Regions from separate parts of the Homo sapiens genome. Here all the other regions are linked to region 3. Evidence: promoter capture Hi-C in 16 types of primary human blood cells and fetal thymus (Javierre and others, 2016). All regions are on one chromosome and are shown on one strand. Each heading gives the region's core, a stretch centred on a gene start or on the middle of the fragment in contact. The rest is flanking DNA. Distances are from core to core; before and after follow the strand shown.

Region 1 (3,862 bases), core at 6-2,505, 830 kb after region 3:
GTTGGAGAAGACAGGAAAGTACACAATAGATTTTAGAAAGATTTCTAGTCAAAATGGTTTTGTTGTTGTTGTTTTTGTGTTTAGAGGAGTAAACATCAGTTAATGGGGAAAAGAAGATTCATAAGTCATTTAAATAGGCCACTTCTTTCCTAACAGACTGGACAAATTGGGCATTACTGTATTTCAAACAAAGCACGAAAAATCTCTTTAGAAGTGTCTCATTCTACAAATATACTATAACCGCAATAATGTGATTTAGGAGGGAAAGAGAGAGACACACACACAAAGACTGCTACTAACTCCTGGACAGGTTAGAAGTTATTACCATTCCATCTTTCTTGCCATTGTTCCCCAACCACATATATTCTCAACTTTTACATAGCTATTAGCATAATATATGATTTATTTTGCTTTGACTTGACTTATCATTCATCACATACTTTCCATGTGCCTATATAATATTCATAATTTTCATTTTGATGGCTGCCTAATAGTCCATGTTCCTAAATTGCTTTCAATTTTACCAATTATCAATAAACAATACTGCAATAAACACCTTCACATATACAGCTATTCTGTCCTTGTGTAGTTTTGGATTACTATCAAACAATAAATTCACCAAAGTGAAATTAGAAATATATCTAAATTAAGAAATGTATTTGAACAGTGACTTGCTTTACGAGGTTGTGGTGAAAATGAGGTTGTAATACCAGTCAAAGCCCTCCTCCCCAGATTAGCAGAAATTTAACTCCTCACTTGACTCTCCCCCACTTCCCTGAATTGCCCAAGAACCCAGAGATTCATTCAGTCAAACTCTTAGCAGAGGGAAAACTAGAGAATCTGACCACCGTCCAGTGGACACTTCTTGACGCCTGCTGTTGCTTCAGTTACTCAGTTACTCCTGTCCTATGGCACATGCATCTAATGAGTGGATATCATGGCTCTTAAACCATGAACTCACAACACCCATGTGTGAAGAGGGCCCCGTGGGCATCATTGTTCCTCTACTAACAGATGAAGATAGGCAGGCTCTGAGAAGTAGTGACACAACCAGGAAGGGACAAAGACAGACCTTCCATCCCTCGGACAGGGATTCATCCATTTCACCGTGCAAGCTCATCATGTACAAGATCCATGCCAAGAAAAATCTGACAGTATACAGGGACAGGACCTGATTTTTTTTCTTAATGTAGAAGGGTGATTCTGCACAGTATATGTAGTTGTGCTTCTATGTCAATGACCCATAAAATATCTTGTGAGGACAGAAAACATAACATACGTAAAATTATGCTCTAAAAAAGCCTTACACATTGTTGGCCTCAAATTATTTTAGCCAGTTGAAATGAAAATTATTTAGAGATTAATTTTAACCTAATTCGGATTTTGTTGAAGATGTAGTAACTTTAAAAACAATGTGAAAGAATAGAGCTGGAAACGCAGTAGTGAAATATCATCTAAAAACAATACACTATTGAATTTTAGATGTATAGAGTCATTTACATGTGACTGACATGTGTCACTACAGCCTATGACTGAGAGATTAATGCACTTCCTTTTAAAAGCATTTCTCCAATACTTTGTACAATTGTGCCCTCTGCCGGATGCACATGGGTATTATTTTACAGGGCTATACATAGGAAACAATGCTTTATAATCACATCTTTTTAAAGTAAAACTTTTCAATACTTGAATTCTGTGTATATTTCAGCAATTAGTTGGTTCTATCCCACACAAACTTCCTAATCCTCTTTTTAAATTACTGATAATCTCATTTACAGAAATCAAAACATTGTTAAAGATTAGCTCAGTACTGTTTAGTGCTGTCAGCTGAGTAAATTGTTACTTCTCAAAAAAGAACTCATAACTAAATATAAATATGGATAAATCTCTTGAAAGTTTCTCATATCTCAATAAAATGCATAATGAAACCATTTATTATCATATTTAAGTTTACAAATATCCACCCAATTATTGTCTCATTTCGTTTCATTATTTAAAAATATTTATTCCCATGTAGCATACTGGATTTCAATGATACACAACAAAATAATATGTGGTCTCAATTCTCAAGAATTTTATTATTAAATGGAAAATGGTGAGAAGTAAATGAACAACTGCAGAGTAGCACATGCCATGAACACTGGGATGTTCCAGATTCCCCTTCAATGAGGAACTTGCGGCTCCAGTCACAGAGAGCCTCCTTACGCAATGTCACACCCCTTTTCAGGAGCCCACATCCAATGACTGATCCATGCTGGAGAAAAAAGTGCCCACCATATCAGCCCAACTTTCTACAACTCAGAAGGGCCATTCTGGCTCCCTAAATCCCCTGGGGTTTACCACAGTTGTTAGGCACACATTCAAGCTCAGCCCTTCTCTCTACCCCAGTGGTTTTCAACTGAGGGCAATTTGCTATCCCCTCCTTCCCCACCACCAGCATATTTTGCAATGTCTGAAAACACTTTTGGTCATCACAACTGAAGGGGAGGGAGGTGTGTATGTGTGCTACTGGCATCTAGTGGGTAGAGCCCAGGGATACTGCTATGCATCCCATAGTGCACAGGACAGCCCCACAACAAAGTGTTACACCTAGTCTGAAATGTCTCTATGCCACAGTTGAAAAACCCTGTTCTATCCAATCTCGTGCTTTCCTTTCCCTTTCATAGGTGTTGGTCTGAGGTCATTCTTTTTTTTGGGGGGGGGTGTTTTGGTTTTGTTTTTCAACTTTTGTTTTAGATTTGGGGGTACACACGCAGGTTTGTTACAAATGTGTATTGCATGATGCTGAGGTTTGCAGTACAATTGAAACCATCACCCAGGAAGTGAGCATAGTACCTAACAGGTAGTATTTCAATCCTTTCTTCCCTCCATGTCTCCCTCCTCTTGTATTCCCTGGTGTCTATTGTTCCCATCTTTATGTCCATGTGTGTCCAATGTTTAGCTCTCACTTATAAGTGAGAACATGTGATATTTGGTTTTCCATTCCTGCATTAGTTCACTTAGGATAATCACCTCCATCTGCATCCATGTTTCTGCAAAGGACATAATTTCATTATTTGTTATGGCTGTGTAGTATTCCATGGCGCATATGTACCACATTTTCTTTATCCAATCCACCATTGATGGGCACTTGGGCTAATTCCATTTCTTTGCTATTGTGAATAGCACTGCAATGAACATACAGGTGCATGTGTCTTTTTGGTAGAATTTCTTTTCCTTTGAGTATATACCCAGTAATGGGATTGCTGGGTCGAACAGTAGTTCAACTCTCACTTCTTTGAGAAATCTCCAAACTGCTTTCCACGGTGGATGACCTAATTTACAGTCCCACAAGTAGTGTATAAGCATTCACTATTTTTTTTTTTTTTTTTTTTTTTTTTTTGGCGGCGGGGAGACGGATTCTCGCTCTGTCTCCCAGGCTGGAGTGCAGTGGCGCGATCTCGGCTCACTGCAACCTCTGCCTCCCGGGTTCAAGCGATTCTCCTGCTTCAGCCTCCTGAGTAGCTGGAACTACAGGCACGCACCACCACGCCCGGCTAATTTTTGCATTTTTAGTAGAGACGGGGTTTCACCATGTTGGCCAGGCTGGTCTCCAACTCCCAACCTCAGGTGATACGGCCGCCTCAGCCTCCCAAAGCACTTTCGCAGGCCCACCAGCATCTGTTTTTTGCCAAGGTCATTCTTTACCGAACATCCTGCACCCTAAACTCCATCAAAGAGTTGGCTTTCTGGGAAACAGTTACGATAGTATCCATAAGAAACCATTTGGTCTTATACGTGTGTATAAGAGAGACAAAGTAGTATGTATGTATATAAATTTATTAGTATGAACAAAACTAGGAGGACATACGCTAAATATAAA
Region 2 (3,866 bases), core at 962-3,461, 860 kb after region 3:
CATAAAGTAAACCCACAGTTCTTGTCATCTGTCTGAAAAAACTGTATTACTTATTTGTTTTACTGTGATCTAGATAGCAAACCATCATAAAAGGGAATTTTATGAAAACCCTTGCAACTTCCATCTTGAACCTCATTTTCCAGTATTCATATTATTGCTGGCAACAGTGTATGGAGGCAGCTGTGGCAGAACTGCTTGAATCACAGAGGTCCAGCCTCACTCTACCACTCGCTGATTAGAGGTTCTCGTCCTCCTGTAAGCCCCCTGCCTTCACCATTCTTTGCCTCAGTTGCCTCACCTATGAAATAGGATCCTAATTAGTGGGTAGTAATTATGAAGAATCCCTAATGGGTAGTAATTGTGAAGAATCCATGAGATAATATGAGAAAAGTTATAGAATGGTGCTTGGTACCAAGTTGGTGCCCAATAAATGTTATTGTTACAGTTAGTTGCTAGTAACCCATCCTTTAACATGGATTATTAACCATAAATTGGTTTTTCTCTGATACCGTTTGCCTTGATTAGTGCTTGATTGAGATTCTGTACATATATATATATATATATATATATATTTTTTTTTTTTTTTTTTTTTTTGAGACAGATTCTTACTCTGTCACCCAGGCTAGAGTACAGTGGCGCCATCTCAGCTCACTACAACCTATGCCTCCCGGGTTCAAGTGATTCTCCTGCCTCGGCCTCCCAAGTAGCTGGGATTTCAGGCGCCAACCACCACACCCAGCTAATTTTTTTATTAGTAGTAGAGATGGTGTTTCACCATGTTGTCCAGAGTGGTCTTGAACTCCTGACCTCAGGTGATCCACCTGCCTCGGCCTCCCAAAGTGCTGGATTATAGGCATGAGCTACCGCGCCCAGCTAAGATTCTGCATATTTTTAATAAGATGTTCTGTGACTTCAGAAAGGTCATATTTCTGCTCTGGGTGGCACCTTTCAAACTTTTAAACTGATTTAGAATATTAAAGACATGAAAGAATGAAAGTTTTGGTGTCTATCAAATTTAGCAATTAACACAGTTTTTAGTTCTGTTTCAAGGATATTCTTGCTTGATAAAATTTAATGCAGTAAAGTACATGGACTGGGAAAATTAACCCACTTCAATATTACTAATAATGTCCCTAAACAAGCTTTCAATTCTTTGTATTTTTAAAATGTGTAGTTACAGCATGATTCAAAACTACTTTTCTTAGCGTCTGTGTCATGCTCCTACAGCCTTCCCTGAATGCATTAGCTGGTCCCAGGGAGATGTGAGAATTGTCTGGTGAGGGTGAGAACAGACTGTGGTGTCAGACTGGAATCTAAAGACTTCGTCTATATTAGAAGCAGCTGCCAGGGCCCGATCTTGCACCAGTAAGAAAATAATGGGCAATAGATCACTAGCATTATTTTTTTCAGCAGCACTTTTGGTGAGTACAGGATGAACAACTGTTCTTCAAGCGGTAATGAATGATGGAATTCATATGTAAGTAATCTGAGTGCCCATGGCGCTTTCCAATTCATTACCTTCACCAGAAATTTTCATGGAGGGTTAGTTACATACACTGTTGGAAAAAGCTTTAATAAAGAGATAAGGGACCTGGGTAGTATGAATAATTGGTTCAAGTTTTTTGTTTCATTTTGCTCTCAAAACCACTAGAAGCTACTTATTCAATAAGGACATTTTCAGCTTTGAACATGAATGCTTTGAAGAACACAGGATTTTAGAAAATGTTACTAGCAAGAGGAAATGTCACTAAATTTGAAAGATTTAACTTTTCAGTATTATTCACTTCCACAGGAACATACAAGTTATGCAATTCATCATCGCCTGAGTCTTGTTTAATATTTTCTTAGGATAAAGGCCTTCAGATTGGACAGTATGTTCTTTTTTGTGATTGCTACTCAGATTCCAGATAGTCTCTACTTTAACATATTTCAAGGATAAAAAACACCAAAAGCTTGACTAGGATAAGAACTCCTTTTGTACAGTGGGAACATGCATGCTTTTGATTATGTCTGTCATCATTTCCTAACAAGATATTTCCGTTACTTAAAGCTTCAATGGAAAATAACTTATGAGAAAGTTTACAGTTATGAAGTTTTAAAGGTCAGCTGTGTTTTCAATTATTTCTTAGGAAAAATGTTTATTATTAGGTTAAGAAAAATACCATTTTGTAGTCATAAGTGACCACTGGTCGAGACTGCAAGGTTATATTGCTAATACTTAGAGGGAAAATGAGTGGAAGTCACCCTCAAAAGAGAGTAAGGCCCTCTGAAACAAACACCACCACTGTTTTCTCGGGTTTGAGCCAATCAGGTATTTATGACCTATGTTTTGAGGGTGTTGGCTCAAAACAGGGACATATTCTAAAAGCTTAAACCCCATTGGGAAGAGGAGACAAAATGAAATGTAAAGTGACACATAGAAGAAGAGTGTCTATGGTGTGGTTCATGGTTATACATGCACATGAGGGGTAGAGCCAGTGACCCAGGCAGTCAAAGGAGGAGCACCGCGGGGCAGCTGTCAAGAAGTAAGGTATGCACTAGGCCAATTTGAGGGATAGGGTCAATTTGGAATGAGAGAAAAAAGGACTTAGTTCACTCCCGGCTTAGACACTCAAAGTGCTGTTCTTACCAGAGAGCCCAGATGTGGTTTTCATATGCCCAGATGTGGTTTTCATACGTTTGAGGGGAGACATCTGCTCCATTACACTGTGTCCATCTGAGTGGGAAGGCTGAGACTGTAGTTTTCATAGTGAGCCTTTAGTCAGTCAAACCTAGAGAGAACCCGGTGAAGTTTATGGCCCAGTATTTAGTGAGCTGTCTTGCTTTAGTCAATGAGGTTGAAGGATGAAATTGCAGTGATTGAGCACAATCCTGACATGCGTGTGTGTTTCATCTGGTGCAGATATTCACAGGTGCACAAAACCGATCAGTGAGATGATACGTGTTAATGGCTGTAGAAAAGTGGAAAGGAACATGAAAATGCACTTCTGTTGTAAAAGTAAAAATGGCGGTTGTCCAGTAACTTCAGGATTACATTTGTCATGGGGCAAGGGATGTGCGACGAAGAGAGAAGACCAGTCTGAAATGGCTCCAGTTCTGCTGGCATGTACCTGTGTTCTGGGTGGTTGCTGACAAGCCAGAAATGAGGCATTCATGGCATACATCAAGTTTGTGCTTTCCCTCGGTTGTGCTACAATTATTCATTTTGGCAAAATAGCAGAAAATATAATCAGAAAGATGTACTAGTCCTAGGAAAGTGAGGGGAAAAAACATTCTTTGCCACTTGCTGCCTCCATGCTTTATCCTCTAACATGTTCTGCCTTTGGGCTCTATGTGTGGAATAATCTTGGATGAAAGTTTTCCTGCTATATAAGATTCTCTGAAGTCCTGGTAACTTTCCATGATTTTTTTTTTCCTTTATGGACTATTACGTGATGTGACATTGGTCACATCATGTAGACAAATAGATTGATGTGAAAAATACCAGGATTATGTATCCTGAACCCAGATGGAATCCAGTAAAGCTTTTCCTTAATAATACATGCCTATTGTTCTTGTTTTAACCTATATGCATATTAACCCTTGTATTAGCCTCCCAGGGCTGCTGTAACAAATTACACAACCTGGGTGGATTAAAAAAAAAAAAAAAACAGATTTATTCTCTCACAGTTCTCAAATCAAGCGGTCAACAGGACCACACGCCCTCTGAAGGCTGTAGGGCCTCACCTCTTCCAACTTCTGGTGTTTCCTGGTGTTCCTTGGCTTGTGGCAGCATCATTCCATCTCTGCCTCCATCTTCATGTGGCCTTTCCCCTGTGTCTGTGTGTCCTTTTCTGTCTCATACAAGGACTTTGTCATTGGAGTTA
Region 3 (3,843 bases), core at 976-3,475:
GGGTTTCAAGCTGGAGAGTGACATGATCTAACTTGACATCATGGTATTGCCAAAAGATTACTGTAGTGAAAATCAGAAGACATGAGCACTAGTCCTGGCCTAGCCAATAACATCAGGGATTTTGAGCAAATCTCTTAATCTCTCTAGACCTCACTTTCTTCATTTTAAAAATGAGGAGGTTGCCCCAAGATGACCTTTAAGATCTTGTTTATTGCCTAATTTCTGCCTGTATTCTGCTTCCTCCCTTGGGCATAAATAAATGACTATTGGGGTGTTACTAGCTCATTAGGTCGAATTCTGAGTTACTTCTTAAAATATTATAAACCATGTATTAACAGCTATAATAGTTACATTTCTGTAGAAAGCAATTGAAGAAGGATCTCTTTATTGGAACCAGCTATATTATTAGAAATGGGAACTCTGGGTGAAAAGTGAATCAAGTGCTTTTGCAACTCTCTGGAACAAAGTTTGGGGTGTGAAGAAAATTGGCAAGGAGGTATGAAAAGATTTACTGACAAGTATTTGAAACCGATTTCCATATTTGTTCTATGTCATCAACTGATGTATAATCTAGGATGGTTTAAAGTTGCAGGGAACCTCTGCTGAGTACTAGTCAAGATGTAGAAGCTTAACTCCTTTCACAGTAACCAAAATGACAACTGAGGCAAAATATTCACTGAGAATCCACTATATTTTAAGACATGCTAGATGGTTTATGTTTTTTTAAAAAATTTAATCCTACTAACTTTATTATTTGCACTTCACAGATATGAAAACGGGCTCAGAATAGACAAGTAAGCTATGTAGTGGCAGGGTTAGGATTACAATCAATCTTAAGGTAGGCAACATATAAATCCTTATTTAATTCCATATTTACAATAAGTTATTCCGTATGTTTTACAAAATTACTGTACAAGCATTAAATATTCAGTTAAGTACCTGACAACTCAAGTATCTGTGACATCTGGACACAGAATGTTCAACCAATAAATCAATTCTGGACTCATAGGTACTTTGCAAGATACAGTTTGGGATAAGAACTTGTTCCAGCATTGGAGGGCCTATTTTGTGGGTAGCATGCTGGGTTGTATGAAAGCCAAATCAAACAAAATATCCAAGGAATTTGTATACCCAATTAAGTACACATCAATAGTATTATGGCAGTTTCCAGGTACATTTTCGCTAGTGTTGCTGGTGAAAGGCCAGCAGTGGAACCGTGGACTGGACAATGTCACCCGTGTTGTGGGCCTAACAAGTATCCTGCAAGTTCCATAAACACGAGGGCATGCTAAAAACTTAACCGATTTCCAACTTACATTAACCCTTTAAAGGGAGCATGGGACACACCACTTGACCATTTGAAGCAGTGCACACGGCTTGTCATGGAGAGGAAAACCTTTGAGACGTGCCCAGCATCATTCCTGTGAGGGTCGAAAGGGTCCCTAACACCTCCCACAAATACACTCACAAACACTCCAGCAAAGTTGGGGATGCTCACTGCACACCTTTCTTAATACCTGGAACAGAGTACCCACCTGTCACATACTCAGCTTCGAACCTCCTCCGGGTCTCAGAGATGAGCTTGGCTTTATTCTGGGCGTGATTCTGGATGGGAGACACGATGGGACCTTAGATACTACTTGCATCAACCCGCTTACCCTCAACCCAGCCCACCTGCACACGGGCGCTCGGTCCCCGGGCCTCAGAGGCGGCTTCCGGGTCCGGGGGGCCAGCGGCGGTGCAATAGGCTCCTCACCTCTGCCATGATCACCGTCGTGGATGTGATTGCGGTTGTCGCCGTCGCCCGTTCTACCGTCGCCGACCGAGTATCTCATCACCCGGCAGTCCCGCCCAGAGGTAGACAGAGAAGGGTGGGAGGGGGAGGCGGTCGCGTGACACCGGAAGGCGGACAGAAGCGCCGCCGCACCGCCCAATCCAATGCGGACGCCTGGGTCTGGAGGCGGGACCAGGCCCTCAGCCTAGGTCCCATTCGATTCTCGTCTGGCCTCGCCCCGCGACATCCCCCGCACTGCGGTCCCGCCCCCGCCAGCCGCGAGATCGCCGGCGCTTCCCCCGCGGAGCTCCGCCCTAGAGAGCTCGCGGGCTCTCTGCTTTCACAACACTCCCCAGGGCCCCGCCTCCTCAGCCTCCCTTGGCCACCTCTCCTGGCTGGCTTCTAGGCTCCGCCTCCTCTGCGTTCGACGCAGCCTCCGCCCGGCCTCCCAGGATGCAGCGCGCTGGCGGGAGGTTTGGAGCAGATGGATACCGTATCGACGTGGGGCCTCCGGTATGTTGCCGCTGCGTTGAGGTAGGATGGGGCTGGCGAGTCTTCCCTTCCCAGGACTTCGCAGAGGGGGCGATGGGGCTGGATTTCCTCCCCTTGTCCCCGCATTGCGGGAGAGAGGGAAGGAAGCGGGCATCCCGAGACCTGGGTCTGTCATTCCTTGCAATGATAATTGGATTTTAAGTGCTACATTCGCTTGAAGTTTTTTTCATCCCTTCAGTATCCTTCCAACTTGGAGTGTGAGATGCTTAATGAGCAAAATATCTCTGAAATCTTTAATCTCAAATAATTATATAAAGTTAAAAAAAGCGTGTTTCGGCTTATTAAGGTAGTTGTGTTCAGCCGGGGGGGTGGGGGGGTGTGTGTGGGGGGGGCGGTTTTACCACCCAGGGGACCTTTGGCAACCTCTGGAGACATTTTTAGTCACCACTGCTAGGGGCCGGGGGCAAAAGAGATGCTCACTGGCTACTAGTGGATAGAGACCAGGGAAGCTGCCAAACATCCTCCAGTGTACATGAAAATTCACAACAGTTATCCAGCCCAAAATGTCAATAGTGTCAAGGTTGAGAAAGATTTAGATTTAAAGGGACTGGAACAAATTTTATTCGTCAGTTAAAAACAATTGAAAGAAAATAGTTGCGCATACAATATTGCCTTTTTTAAAGTTGAAAGATACTGAAAACTACAAACAAGTTGTAAGAATAGTCCCCCATATTTCCATCAACCGTAGTCATCCATGACAGAATGGCATGTTAGCATCTTTTGTCCTAGACTTTTAAATATATTTACATTTTTTATGGGAAAAAATGAACACATTGTTTAAACGTTGTTTGACTACATCCTTAAAAGATATTTCAGATATAACTAAAGTCTCCTTCTACCTCTACTCACCTATCCTGGACACTTCCTTGTCCAGAATCAACAGCATTCAGAATTTGGCATGAAATGTTTACAGTTTTACATTTTTTTATTTTGGATCATACTGCCTGGGTTTGAATCCTGGCTCTGTCACTTCTTATCTGCAAGCCTTTGAGAAGATCCTGAAACTCCTTGCCTCAGTTTCTCCATCTATAAAATGGGATAGTAACAGTGCCTATGTCATAAGGATGTTGTGAGGAAGAAACGAGTTAATCCAAAGTGCTTAGAGCAGTACCTGGCACTGTTTCTTCAGGAAAAAAAAAAAAAATAGTACATGGCACTATTTCTTGAGAAAGCACTCAGGGACTGTAGTCATTGTAGGTAAATAGAACATATATAATGCTGTTTTATTTGTTTTACATAAATAATATGCTGCAGTGTACATTTGTCTGCAACTTAATTTTTAATTCATTTTATTTTTGAAATTTAACCATGATTATATATATATATACACACACACACACACACATATATAGATAGATAGATCTAATTCATTCCTTTTAACTCTTGTTTGATAGTCCATCTATACTCATTCCCCTATTGGTGTTCATTGAGGTTTTTACTTTTTTTATATTGCAAATATCAGCACAGTGAGCTTCTAGAGCAATGTATTCATTCATATGTGGGATTATGTCTCTGGG

What was found. The method cuts DNA at HindIII sites, captures the fragments that hold promoters and counts their contacts. A CHiCAGO score of 5 or more calls a contact.
Region 1: a fragment that was not itself captured here is called in contact with the fragment with the promoter of FANCB in region 3 in 2 of 17 cell types (M0 macrophages and total B cells); the score reaches 5.5 in M0 macrophages.
Region 2: a contact is called between a fragment that was not itself captured here and the fragment with the promoter of FANCB in region 3, in 1 of 17 cell types (total B cells). The highest score is 5.1, in total B cells.

The regions. Positions count from the first base shown.
Region 1 is chrX:14,037,249-14,041,110 of GRCh38, reverse strand. No RefSeq gene overlaps it. Among named protein-coding and RNA genes, the nearest start is that of GEMIN8, 9.3 kb to the right of the region's middle. The HindIII fragment of the contact is 7,534 bases long and covers 1-3,862 here.
Region 2 is chrX:14,013,573-14,017,438 of GRCh38, reverse strand. The region is part of intron 4 of GEMIN8 (gem nuclear organelle associated protein 8); the gene reads left to right. Among named protein-coding and RNA genes, the nearest start is that of GEMIN8, 14 kb to the left of the region's middle. The HindIII fragment of the contact is 318 bases long and covers 2,053-2,370 here.
Region 3 is chrX:14,871,451-14,875,293 of GRCh38, reverse strand. It overlaps FANCB (FA complementation group B), which reads left to right and starts at 2,225. Exons shown (of 10, transcript NM_001018113.3): 1 at 2,225-2,308. It overlaps MOSPD2 (motile sperm domain containing 2), which reads right to left and starts at 1,873. Exons shown (of 15, transcript NM_152581.4): 1 at 1,757-1,873; 2 at 1,536-1,605. The coding sequence starts at 1,765. RefSeq lists a silencer at 1,906-2,135. The HindIII fragment of the contact is 4,870 bases long and covers 630-3,843 here.